Linked DNA regions of Homo sapiens: region 2 is linked to region 1. Evidence: promoter capture Hi-C in human tissues and cell types (Jung and others, 2019). All regions are on one chromosome and are shown on one strand. Each heading gives the region's core, a stretch centred on a gene start or on the middle of the fragment in contact. The rest is flanking DNA. Distances are from core to core; before and after follow the strand shown. Region 1 holds the start of PLEKHA5 (pleckstrin homology domain containing A5). Region 2 has its middle 150 kb from the start of CAPZA3.

Region 1 (6,584 bases), core at 2,591-5,090:
TTTCACCATGTTAGCCAGTATGGTCTCAATCTCCTGACCTCGTGATCCGCCCGCCTCGGCCTCCCAAAGTGCTGGGATTACAGGCGTGAGCCACCGCGCCCAGCCAACAAGACTTATTTTTTAACTACAGGCATACCTAGGAGACACTGCTGGTTCATTTCTAGACCAGCACAATAAAGTGAACATAGCAATAAAGTGAGTCACACCATTTTTTTGGTTCCTAGTGCATATATTAGTTATATTTATTATACTGTAATCCATTAAGTGTGCAATAGCATTATGGCTAAAAAACGTACATGCCTTAATTTAAAAAATACTTTAGCCAGGCGCGGTGGCTCACGCCTGTAATCCTAGCACTTTGAGAGGCCAAGGCAGGTGGATCACCTGAGGTCAGGAGTTCCAGATCAGTCTGGCCAACATGGTGAAACCCTGTCTCTAATAAAAATACAAAAATTAGCTGGGCATGGTGATGCGCACCTGTAGTCCCAGCTACTAGGCAGGCTGAGACAGGAAAATTGCTTGAGCCTGGGAGATGGAGGTTGCAGTGAGCTGAAATTGTGCCACTGCACTCCAGCCTGGGCAACCAAGTGAGACTCCATCTCAAAAACAACAACAACAACAAAAAAAAAACTTTAATGGTTAAAAAATGCTAATGGATCATCTGAGTCTCCAGCAAGTCTTAATCTTTTCGCTGGTGGATCTTGCCTCAATGTTGTTGAAGGCTGCTGACCAGTCAGGCTAGTGTTGATGCAGGTAAGAGCAGTTGTTGCAGTTTCTTAAAGACAATAGAGAAGTTTGCTGCATCGATTGACCCTTCCTTCCATGAAGGATTTCTCTGTAGCATGTGATACTGTTTGACAGCATTTTACACACAGTATAATTTCTTTCAAAATTGGAATCTATCCTTTCAAACCCTGCCACTACTTTATCAACTAAGTTTATATTATATTCTAAACTATTTGTTGTCATTTCAACAATATTTACAGTATCTTCACCAGGAATAGATTCCCTCTCAAGAAATCACTTTCTTTGCTCATCCATAAGAAGCAACTCCTCATCCCTTCAAATTTTACCATGAGATTGTGGCATTTCAGCCCCATCTTCAGGCTCTATCTCTAATTCTAGTTCTCTTGCTATTTCCATATTTCTAGTTACTGCCTCCACTGAAGTCTTGAACCCCTCAAACTCATCCATGAGGGTTGGAATCAACTTCTTCCAAACTCTTGATAATGTTGATCTTTTGGCTTCCTTCCTTAAGTCACAAATGTCCTTGATGGCATCTAGAATTATGAATTTTTTCAATTTACTTTTTCCAGATCCATCCAAGGACCCCCTATCTCTGGCAGCTATAGCCTTATGAAATGTACTTTCTACATAATAAGACTTGAAAGTCACAATGACTCCTTGATCCATGAACTGTGGAATGCATGTTGGGTTAGCCAACATGAAAACAACACTAATCTCTTGTATGTCTCCAGGAGAACTCTTGGGTAAACAGGTACACTGTCAATGAACAGAAATATTTTGAAAGGAATCACTTTTTCTTTTCTTTTTTTTTTTTTTTTTTTGAGCAGTAGGTCTCAACAGCAGACTTAAAATGTTCAGTCAGCCATGACAGATGTGCTGTCATCTAGGCTTTGTTGTTCCATTTATAGAGCACAGGAAGAGTATATTTAGCATAATTTTTAAGGGTCTTAGAATTTTTGGAATGGTCAATGAGAATTGGCTTCAACCTAAAATCACCAGCTGCATTATCTCCTAACAAAAAAGTCAGCCTGCCCTTTGAAGCTTTGAAGCCAGGCATTGACTTTTCCTCTCTAGCAGTGAAAGTCCTAGATGGCATCTTCTTTCAATAGTAGGCTGTTTTGTCTACATTGAAAATATGTTTAGTGTATCCACCTTCAATGATCTTGACTAGATTTTCTGGATAACTTGCTGCAGCTTCTACATCATTTGCTGCTTCATCTTGCACTATTATGTTACGGAGATGGTGTTTTTCCTTAAATCCCTGATAGCTTCAACCTTTTCTTCTGCAGCTTCCTCAGCTCTCTCAACCTTCATAAGATTGAAGAGAGTTAGAGCCTTGCTCTGGATTAGGCTTTGGCTAAAGGGAATGTTGTAGCTAGGTTGATCTTCTCCCCAGACCACTAAAATTTTCTCCCTATCTGCAATGAGGCTGTTTTGTTTTCTTATAATTCATGTTTTCACCAGAGTAGCATTTTCAATTTCCTTCAAGAACATTTCCTTTGCATTCCCAACTTGTCTAATTATTTGACACAAGGCCGAGCTTTTGGCCTCTCTTGGCTGTTGATACATCTGAGCTTAATCGTTTCTAGCTTTTCATTTAAAGTAAGGGACATGCAACTCTTCCTTTCACTTGGTCACTTAAAGGGCATTGTAGGGTTACTGGTTGGCCTAATTTCAATATTAGGCCATTATTATTAGACAATTATTAGTGTTTCATTTCAGGGAATATGGAGGCCCAAGATGAAGCAGAGAGACAGAGGAACAGCTGGTTGGTGGAGCAGTCAGAACACACACATTTATTAAGTCCCTGTCTTACATGGGCTCAGTTCATGGTGCCCTCAAAACAATTTCAACAGTAACATCAAAGATCACTGATTACAGATCACTATAACAGGTACAATAATGAAAAAGTTTGAAAGATTGCAAGAATTACCAAAATGTGCCACAGAGACATGTAGTGAGCAAATGCTGTTGAAAAACGGTGCTAGGACTTGCTTAATGCAGAGTTGCCACAAACCTTCAATTTGTAAGATGTGAAAGATCTGCAAACAGCAATAAAGTGAATCGCAGTAAAACAAAGTGGGCTTGTACAGCAAGGAGGTTATACAAATATACTTTTGAAATCCTACAGCCAGTTTGAATCCAGGCTTTGGCAGTTATTACTATGACTGGGCAAACTACTGTGTTTTTAAACTTCATTTTTCCTATCTGTAAAATGGGGATTTTTTATAGATTGTGTGTGTGTGTGTATATATACACACACACACACACATATATATATATACACACATATATATATAGTTGTTGTGAAGATTTAAAAATGTACACCGTCACAAGGACTCCATAAAATAAGCTATTATTGTAATCTATTGGAGACAGGGCAAGTAAAAATCCACACTGATGTTAAGTGAATCTTTAAAAACAAGTACCAGAAAAAGACGAGTTTTTATTTTATAAGATATGACCTAAGGGGCCTAGGAAGAGAAAAAACTTGTTTTGTCAAGTCTAAATCCACTCATATTTCATGGGGCCACGTATCACGTCCAACCTTTGATATCTGGCACACAACAAACAAACAGGAAAGGCCTTTCGTGTGCTTTAATAAAAACAGCTTTCCATTTTAAAACGATAAATATATTGGAAAAATCTGTTGGCTCTCCAACAGCTCTTATAAAACAAAGCTCAGACGCTGTGTTTTTGTTGTTTGAAAGAGAGAAATCAGGGGCTTGGGCATTATTAGGCTCCCTTTGATCGCGCCCTGGGATGGGAAGCCTTCGGGCAAAGCCCTGGGGGCAGGACGCGTTTTTTTTTTTTTTTTTTTTTTTTTTTAATCGATCCCGGAACCTTCGCGCGGCGGAGGGGGCGGGCGCGCCGCAGGGGCCCGAGGGAGGGGTCTGGGGCGCGGCGCCGCTTGCCCATCCCCCGAGCGCGCGGCGGGGCGGCCGGCCGGCGGCCGCCGGGATGCGGAGGGGCGGCGACGGGGGCCGGACCCTGCCGGGGCGGCGGGGCGGGCACCGCCCGAGGGGGTAGGGCGCGCGCGGGGGCGCGCCGGGCCGGGGAGGCGCGCTCGCTCCGCGCTCCCTTCGCTCGCTCGTTCCCTCCTCCCTCGGCAGCCGCGGCGGCAGCAGGAGAAGGCGGCGGCGGCGGCTAGGGATCAGACATGGCGGCGGATCTGAACCTGGAGTGGATCTCCCTGCCCCGGTCCTGGACTTACGGGATCACCAGGGGCGGCCGAGTCTTCTTCATCAAGTAAAGAGCCGGGGACGGCACGGGGGCCCGCGGGGGCGGGAGGGCAGGAGGCGGGCGGCTGGCGACACGGGGGAGAGCCCGGGTCTGTGCTCCTGCAGCCCCTCGGCTCGCCCCCGCGTCCCCTCTCACGCTCCGTGTCTGCCCCTTCTCTCACCCCTGCAGCGAGGAGGCCAAGAGCACCACCTGGCTGCACCCCGTCACCGGCGAGGCGGTGGTCACCGGACACCGGCGGCAGAGCACAGGTAACGCCGGGCCCAAACGGAGTTGGGCTCCGCCTGGAGGAGGCGGCAGAGCCCGGGCCGCCCGGCTCCCCGCAACCTGCCCCGCGCCGCGGGCCCCGGGAGGCGGCGAGGCGGGGCGGAGGCCGGGCGGGAGCGGCCGCAGGTAGAGGGGCCACGGGGACTCCGCCGCCGGGAGTTCTCTCCAGTCTCGGGGCGCCTCTTTCTCCTCAGCCTTTCATCAGCACTTGGAGACGGCGCCCTCTTCCTGCGCCTTCTCCCCCCATCCCAGCCTAGACGACCCTCGCGACCCTAGAGTGGCGACGCTCCCCTCCCTGAAACCTGGAGTCCTGAGTTTTTCCTCCGCGGCCGCTACTCACTCCCCGGTGACCCCCAGCTGCCGTCTTGCCCCCCAGCAATCTTCAGGCAGTCCTTACCCACTCCCCTCCCTGCAGCCCCGGACCCCGATCGCCCGCCGGGATAACGTAACCACATCCTCCCCCTCCTCCCAGGAGCGCTGCCTCCTGCCGTGCAGCTTCCTCCTCCTAGGTGGGACTTGTGGGTAGGTGGCTGATGAAGGAGGAGGAGGAGGAGGAGAGGAGTTCGGGGGTGCTGCGATCCTCTCTGTGACAGGGAACGGCTCGGGAAACGCTTGGCGCGTTCCCTCCTGCCACGGGAGGAGCAGCCGGAGCCGGAGGAGGCGTTCGCAGCCTCAGTTGCTGGCGATCCGGATCTAAAGTCCCCGCCAGCCGCACGGAGGTTGCACAGACTGCCAGGAGGCGGTGGGCGTGCGAGGGGGTGTCCCGTATGGGGGCACCCGGGCCCTGTTTGGAGGGAGTCCGTGGGGAAGCGGCTCTCTCGGGTGGCTTTGGGAGCTTGTTTGAATGCTAAGTGTGAGTGGAGCTGGAAAAGGCTCCTCGTAGTTTCTGTACTGGTCTGGGTTTCTTTTATCATTCTTTGTTTACATTCGTGACTTGTTTGTCTTTGAAATGTAACATGTGTTCTCTTACTGGCCTGCCTCTAGTCCTGGTGATTGGAAAGGCTTGAGAGCAGTTTGGGTCGAAGGCGAGGCCAGTTTCAGCAGTCCTCAGAGCTGGCCTCTGGGGTACATTCTCTCGGACTCTGACATTCCGTGAATCTGTTAAAGTTGCCAGGATATTGAACAAACCTGCCTCTCTGTGAAATGCTGGAGTTCACTGAAGTGACTAATGTCTCCAAATTTGCAAAAAGGTGGAGGAAGAAAGGAAAGGCTGGTGTAGCAAGCATGATGAGCTTACATTTTTAAGGCATTTCTGACTAATACACTATCATGTTTCTCAATTCCCCGGTGCAGGCTTTTGCTTCAATATACCTTTCTGGTGTTTTACACGCATATTCCAACTTTGATGGCCTCTTTGCTTTTATGGATAATGATAGATTTATTTCATGAAAGACGATATGACATTTAAATTATTTAGACTAATTATCCTATGGAATTATGAGTGATATAAATAAGTGTCCTAGTTAACCCCACAGATTTGGTAACATTCACGCCACAGAAAAATTTTATTCTTTTATGTGATTTCACTTTTTTTTTTTTCTGGTTTGGTTTTACTTTGCTTGGACTCTGGTTTTGTACACACATCGGTTGTTTTTACTTCCAAGAGGCATTTTGATGAAATCCAAACAACTTGTCATTAATAATAATATGTAGCACATAATGACCATTGTTCACCTGAATCATCCCCAACTTTACTACTTGAAACTTCACGTCTCTTAGTCAAATTTTTAGAAACACACACGGAAGTATTCGGTGTCATTTCTTTTCCATTAATTAAGTAGTTAGGAAGTTCTGCCTTCTTTTTGGTGACACTTCCTAGATGGATTCATTTGTGTAGCTGAAAAATACGGTCTTAAATAGACACAATATACCCAAGAAGAGGCAGGCGTTGCCTGTTATACCCAGCTTTTTTTTTTGCTAGTCATTCATGAGTGTTCCACCTGGGATGAGAAGGCTTCCCTTTGCTTTCTTGGGTGCCAGAACATAGTTCCTCTCCACCCTAATATATTACAGTGTGTGCTCAGGTCAGATAATCTCTAATATTATGGTTACTTTTCTGGTGGCTCTAAATTTGAATTGCTGTTTTTCAAAAAATGATATCTGTTGTATTGCCAGCTCAACACTTTTTTTGTTAGTAATCTACTTAATTAAAACAGCTAATAAATGAAAATGGATAATTAAAATGGATTGAGACTTATTTTGCTATCATTGAAGTAATACTAATTGTAATATATGTATTGTTTTAGATTTGCCTACTGGCTGGGAAGAAGCATATACTTTTGAAGGTGCAAGATACTATATAAAGTGAGTTTTTTGACTTTCATTTTTTT
Region 2 (6,584 bases), core at 1,886-4,385, 240 kb before region 1:
TTCTCATAGCCAAGTCTCAACACTATCATTTGATGAGCCTGTTTTCTGTAAATTGCTCCTAAAAGAGGGAATTTTTATTTAACTATCATGTTGAGTGTAGCAAAATGATTGGTGTGAATTTACTTTGGAGATTTGCAAACTCAAGGCAGTTTTTCAACTGGAGTGGGTGAGATTGGTGGAGGCTCCAGGTTAAACCATTGTAAATTCCAGACTACTCTACATGATGAGGGCACTTAGCAAAAATAAAAGCAATGTGGAAAAAAAAAACACCTTTTTGTAAAATTCAGTTTTTATAGCATTAATCTCCCTGTGAGATAATAATCTCCAGACATAATAAATGAGAGAGAGTGAGCAGAATCCATCTTAGAACAGATTCTCCTCTCCACACACTAATTTCTTCTTAAACGTTTCAAAATTCAAAAGGTGAAGTGATATAGAAACTGATCAAACATCAACCCCAAAGCGTATGAGAAATACTATGTTCATGTTGTTAAATTGTGGATTATTGTTTCTCTGCATATTTACCAGTGAACTAAAGGTTAATTCTCTGTCTGTAAATTAAATGGATTTGTAATTAGAGCCTTTTGCTTAATTTGCTTTAAAGATCATTCCTGTTTATGTGTTGACCGCAATTTCACTTTTAAATGTAATTGCTTTTAAATCCCAGAGGATGCTAATGTAGATTCAGATCAATACATTTTAATACTGAAAACTATGATCAAGGATTAACAATGTAAATTTTTATAAAGAAAGTTAAGTGTAGCTATCTCTGTGTCCCTCTTGTTGGTGGCTTCCAATTAGATGTTGCTGAGAGCTTAACCTCCAGAAGCTCTAGAACATTGTACACCTGCAGCAGCCTCCCCAGCCACATTCATTGTGGAGCATGGGCAAGAACACAAACTCTTTAGTAAGTCAGTCTTACCAGACAGAGCCCAGGAAACAGGAAAAATAATAACTACAATCCAAGCAGTTCCTATTTTTCATGTCTATGTTGAACCTCTTTGAAAAGTCATCTCCAAAGGTTAGGGGAGACTTTAGACTGAGTCCAGGATATTTCACTTGTACTGCAGCCCATGGGTCAGACATGTCCCAAAGCTAAATGATTTATCCCAACTTTTTACATCACAAACTCTTCCCTGAGCCAGACTGCGTGGTGGCTGGGCAACTGTACTTAGTGATTATTTTTAAAACGTCACTGTGTTTCACTGGACAAGAATGAGACAAAGAAAGTTATCTTTACTTGAACTCTTCTCAGAGAAAACTGCTTATAGATGGAAGGAATAAACTCCTCTAAAGATGGGGGCACAGGTTAGGGGAGATTGGACACTGACATGGTTAGGCTGTGTCCCCACCCAAATCTCATCTTGAATTGGAGTTCCCATAATCCTCAAGTGTAGTGGGAGGGGGCCGGTGGGAGGTAATTGAATCATGGGGATGATTACTTCCATGCTGTTCTCAGTGATAGTGGGTGAGTTCTCACAAGATTTGATGGTTTTATAAAGGGCTTGTCCCTTCGCTCATCCTCTTTATTTTCTCTCCTGCCACTACGTGAAGAAAGATGTGTTGCTTCCCCTTCCATCATGATTGTAAGGTTCCTGAGGCCTCCCAAGCTGTGCGGAACTGTGAGTCAATTAAACCTCTTTTCTTTATAAATTACCCAGTCTTGGATATTTCTTCATAGCAGTGTGAGAACAGACTGATACAGGCACCCTCAGGACCTTGCTGACACTGCCTTCCTTCTAAGGAAGCTACATCTGACTGACCACAGGGTGCGTGTGTGTGTGTGTGTGTGTGTGTGTGTTTTGTTAACAGGAAACTTCAAGTTTCAGGCCAAAAGCGACTTTCTGGTGATTATTATAGAAAACCTGAGAACTACCACAACTGGTTCTCTTTCTTTATCCTTCTTTCATACTTTATTCAGTAGTTTCTTAAAATAAATATTGAAGGAATATTCAAAGAATGGCAGTTTGAAGAATTACTGAATTCTTATAGCCATCCACAGAGCTCCCATGTCTTAGCTGGGCTCTGCCTCCGCTGTCCTCACCACAGCATGAACAGATTAAGATATGCCAGGTAGCCCCTATAAACCATGTCACCTCACCTCTAGTATGAGGCTATAGAAAAAGAAAAAAGAAAAAAAAAAGCATGTCTCCATCCCTACGTCAGTGTCACACATGCCAGGAACTCGGCAACACTCTGCTTAGAAGATTTAACACCACATTAAATAAACACTACACTGAGATTTTAATTTCAAAAGTACTTTCTTGAAAAACAGCTATGTGACTAGCACCATTTTAAGTATTACGGAGGCTGCTATTAGAAATAAATGGCATGGTCCTTCCCATCAAAGAGCATAGAATCTGCTTAGAAAAACAAGCTTAGAGTAAGCCTTTAAAGTAAACCTCCAGCAAATCTTGGTCCACGCAGTTACAAGCCTTTGCTCTTGAACTGGCACTTGGGAAATATAGAGAATTATTATAGGAATGGATCTCCATTTTGTGAGTGTGTGTGTGTGTGTGTGTGTGTGTGTCTTAGACGTGGAACTTCTCAGATACATATAGTCACCTCATGGCCAAATTATAAAGACACAGGATTCAAAATATTTAACAGAAGGCAAACTTCCTCTGCAGAGATGGGAGAAAGAGCCTGTGTACACAGTTGCAAAATGAAAGGGAGGAAAAGATTCCCTCAGAAGCGTAATCATGCTGGACCCCCTGCCTGGATAATTCAGAGAGAGCTGAGAAAACTATTTCTTCAATTTTGCCATTTTTAGATAAATTAGCAGGATAATTGCCTTGACTCCACTCTTTCCCCGGTGGGTGGAGACACAGCTGGGCTAAGAGTAGAGGCCAAGCCAATCTGAATCCAAATGAAGGGTGAATCACAGTAGGGTTGAATAATAATCCCCTGCTCTCTGCCTCTGCTCTTCTTGTAACCTGCTTCTAGATAAGACCTTTGTCTTTGGGCTGGGATATAATTAAAGCTTGTCAAAACATCCTTCCCATTTCCCTATACACAATTGCCCTCTGTATTATGTTTTATATTAATTTATCCAGATGCTTTAAAAAATTCCCATGTACAATTTTTGAATAATTTTTGAAAAGATCTGTATTCTTCATAACCAAAGCTTTATTTCTAGCTATACACAGCATTTGCCTTCATCTGCATGGCTCTGCTGCAATCTATAGTCCACTGTCTTCATTCATTCATTCATGTTTGTTGACTAAACTAATTCATAAATGTGTGTTGAATGAGAGAGTGAGTGAATTTCTGAGAAAACATGAATTTGCGGGGGAGGGGTCAGGCAGAATGAGGTGATTTGAATGTATCCCCCTTTAAATTTCAGGTGTTGCCAATGCGGTAATGTTGGGAGGCAGGATTTTTGACAGGCGACTGGGCTATGTGGGCTCATCGCTTGTGGGCGAGATTGAACGCCCTTGTAAGAGGACTTGGCAAAAGGAGTTCTTCCTTTCTCACCCTCCCAGCTTTTTCCATGTGAAAATACAGCATTCTTCCCTGCTGGAGGATGCAACCCTGACCAGACACCAAATGCCTGTGCCTTGTTCTAGAGCTTCCAGCCTCCAGGACTGTCAGAAATAATTTTCTGTTCTTTGTAAATTACCCAGTCTCAGGTACTGTGTTATAGCAGCACAAACAAAGACAGGGGTATTCAACAAATACGATTGTGTAGACACATTTTATAGTATCAGCATGGTCTGGATTTTGAGTCACCTTGTCTTATACTCTGAGGTTGAACTCCATGACATTCACTTAAATGGCAAAATGCTGTAAACATGTATATATGAACCGAAGTGAATTTGTACTTACATCTTGATGCCTAACTTTCCTGGCAGTATTAGTATTTGTTATTTTTTTCTAAACCACCTTCAGTGTATATGTCTCCAAACATAAATGTTCAATATTCAATATCACACATGTAGTCATTCATCATTTCATAAAATTATGAAATCGAGAAGAATCTCTGTTGCCCATTGCCAATGTATTATACAGTCTGTGTACTCTTCATAACCAAGGCTTTATTTCTAGCTGTACACAGCATTTCCCTTCATTTGCATGATGCTGCTGTAATCTACAGTCTACACTATTACCAATGTATATGCAATTATGCTACACTATAGCACAATTTTTATATAATGTACTATTTTCAATCTCTGTTGTTTGCTGAGTATATTTTCCTGATATGCTTTCCTTCTATGGGTTTAGAGTTTTATAGTTGTTGCCTATTATTTCTGAGTGTGGTCGAAGTAGACAGGTTTTCTGTGTACTTATCAGTGTTTATGATGTCTTCTAAGATAACATCATCAGTCAATCTGGAATGTTTCTCTAACACTTAAACTTCACTAAAAATTTGAGGGAATGATTACTATGCCCCTAATTCTAACTAGAGCATATGTTCTAGCCTGAGCTAAACAACTGATTCAGAAGGCTTTAAAATATTTCAAATGATATAAATAACCCTCAAGGATCATAATTGGCAACTTTGCTTCTAGATATAATGGCAAATAATAAAAAGTAAAACCTCTACAAATCAAGCTAGAAGCTAGACTTCTTACTATAACTCAGGAGAGCAAAAATGTATATTTTAAGGTAATAAAATGAACTGATATTTTCACAACTTTAAAAAATTTTATAAGTATCTTTTATATTTTTATAAGTTTTTTTAATTTTATAAATATCAACTTATATTTGTTTCTGGGTAGCTAAGAACAAAAATATCAAACATGTTTTATGTTTATAATCAAATGCTGAGTTTTTTAAAACTAGCAAAATGTTAATAGTTGTTGTCTCAGACATTAGGTCATTGGTGATTTTTATTTTCCACTTTTACTTTTTTTGTATTTTTTTTTTAAGTTCTGGGATACATGTGCAGAACGTGTAGGTTTGTTACATAGGTATACATGGGCCATGGTGGTTTGCTGCACCTATTGACTCGTCCTCTAAAGTTCCCTCCCCTCACCTCCCAAACCCCAACAAGCCCTGGTGTGTGTTGTTCCCCTCCCTGTGTCCATGTGTTCTCATTGTTCAACTCCCACCTAATGAGAACGAGCGGTGTTTGCTTTTCTGTTCCCCTGTTAGTTTGCTGAGAATGATGGCTTCCAGCTTCATCCAAGTCCGTACAAAGGACATGATCTCATTCCTTTTTTTGGCTGCTTAGTATTTCCATGGTGTATATGTACCATATTTTCTTTATCCAGTCTATCATTGATGGGCATTTGGGTTGGTTCCATGTCTTTGCTATTGTAAATAGTGTAATAAACATATGTGTGTATGTGTCTTTACAGTAGAATGATTTATATTCTTTTGGTTATATGCCCAGCAATGGAATTGCTGGGTCAAATGGTATTTCTGGTTCTAGATCCTTGAGGAATCGCCACACTGTCTTTTCCACAATGGTTGAACTAATTTACATTCCCACTAGCTGTGTAAAAGCGTTCCTATTTCTCCACAGCCTCGCCAGCATCTATTGTTTCCTGACTTTTTATTAATCACCATTCTGACTGGTATGAGATGGTATCTCATTGTGGTTTTGATTTGCATTTCTCTAATGATCAGTGATGTTTAACTTCTTTTCATATGTTTGTTGACCACATAAATGTCTTTTTTGAGAAGTGTTCATATTCTTTGCACACTTTTTGATGGGGTTGTTTTTTTCTTGTAAGTCTGTTTAAGTTCCTTGTAAATTCTGGACCTTTGTAGGCTGGGTAGATTGCAAAAATTTTCTCCCATTCTGTAGGTTGCCTGATCACCCTGATGATAGTTTCTTTTGCTGTGCAGAAGCTCTTTAGTTCAATTAGATACCATTTGTCAAGTGTGGCTTTTGCTGCAATTGCTTTTTGGCATTTTTATCATGAAGTCTTTGCCCATGATTATGTCTTGAATTGTGGTATTGCCTAGGTTTTCTTCTAGGGTTTTTATGGTTTTGTCTTTAATACCGCTTTAATACATTAAGTCTTTAATACATCTTAATTTTTGTATAAGGTGTAAGGGAGGGGTCCAGTTTCAGTTTTCTGCCTATGGCTAGCCAGTTTTCCCAGCACAATTTATTAAACAGGAGATCCCTTCTCCATTGCTTGTTTTTGTCAGGTTTGTCGAAGATCAGATGGTTGTAGAAGTGTGGTGTTATTTCTGAAGTCTCTGTGGTGTCCCATTGGTCTATGTGTCTGTTTGGGTACCAGTACCATACTGTTTTGAATATTGTAGCCTTGTAATATAGTTTGAAGTCAGGCAGTGTGATGCCTCCAGCTTTGTTCTTTTTGCTTAGGATTGTCTTGACTATACGGGGTCTTCTTTGATTCCCTGAAATTTAAAGTAGTTTTTTCTAATTCTGTGAAGAATGTCAATGGTAGTTTGATAAGAATAGCATTGAATCTATAAATTACTTTGGGCAGTATGGCAATTTTCATGATTCTTCCTATCCATGAGGATGGAATGGTTTTTCCATTTGTTTTTGTCCTCTCTTATTTCCTTGAGCAGTGGTTTGTGGTTCTCCTTGAAGAGGTCCTTCACTTCTCTTGTTAGCTGTATTCCTAAGTATTTGATTCTCTCTGTGACATTTGTGAGTG

What was found. The method cuts DNA at HindIII sites, captures the fragments that hold promoters and counts their contacts. A contact is called where the count stands out against the background at its distance.
Region 2: a fragment that was not itself captured here is called in contact with the fragment with the promoter of PLEKHA5 in region 1 in 2 of the 25 tissues and cell types used here (H1 embryonic stem cells and IMR-90 fibroblasts).

Annotation. Positions count from the first base shown.
Region 1 is chr12:19,125,893-19,132,476 of GRCh38, forward strand. PLEKHA5 (pleckstrin homology domain containing A5) reads left to right here and starts at 3,841. Exons shown (of 32, transcript NM_001256470.2): 1 at 3,841-3,996; 2 at 4,159-4,238; 3 at 6,501-6,558. The coding sequence starts at 3,908. The HindIII fragment of the contact is 10,456 bases long and covers 1-6,584 here.
Region 2 is chr12:18,885,412-18,891,995 of GRCh38, forward strand. No RefSeq gene overlaps it. Among named protein-coding and RNA genes, the nearest start is that of CAPZA3, 150 kb to the left of the region's middle. The HindIII fragment of the contact is 5,934 bases long and covers 169-6,102 here.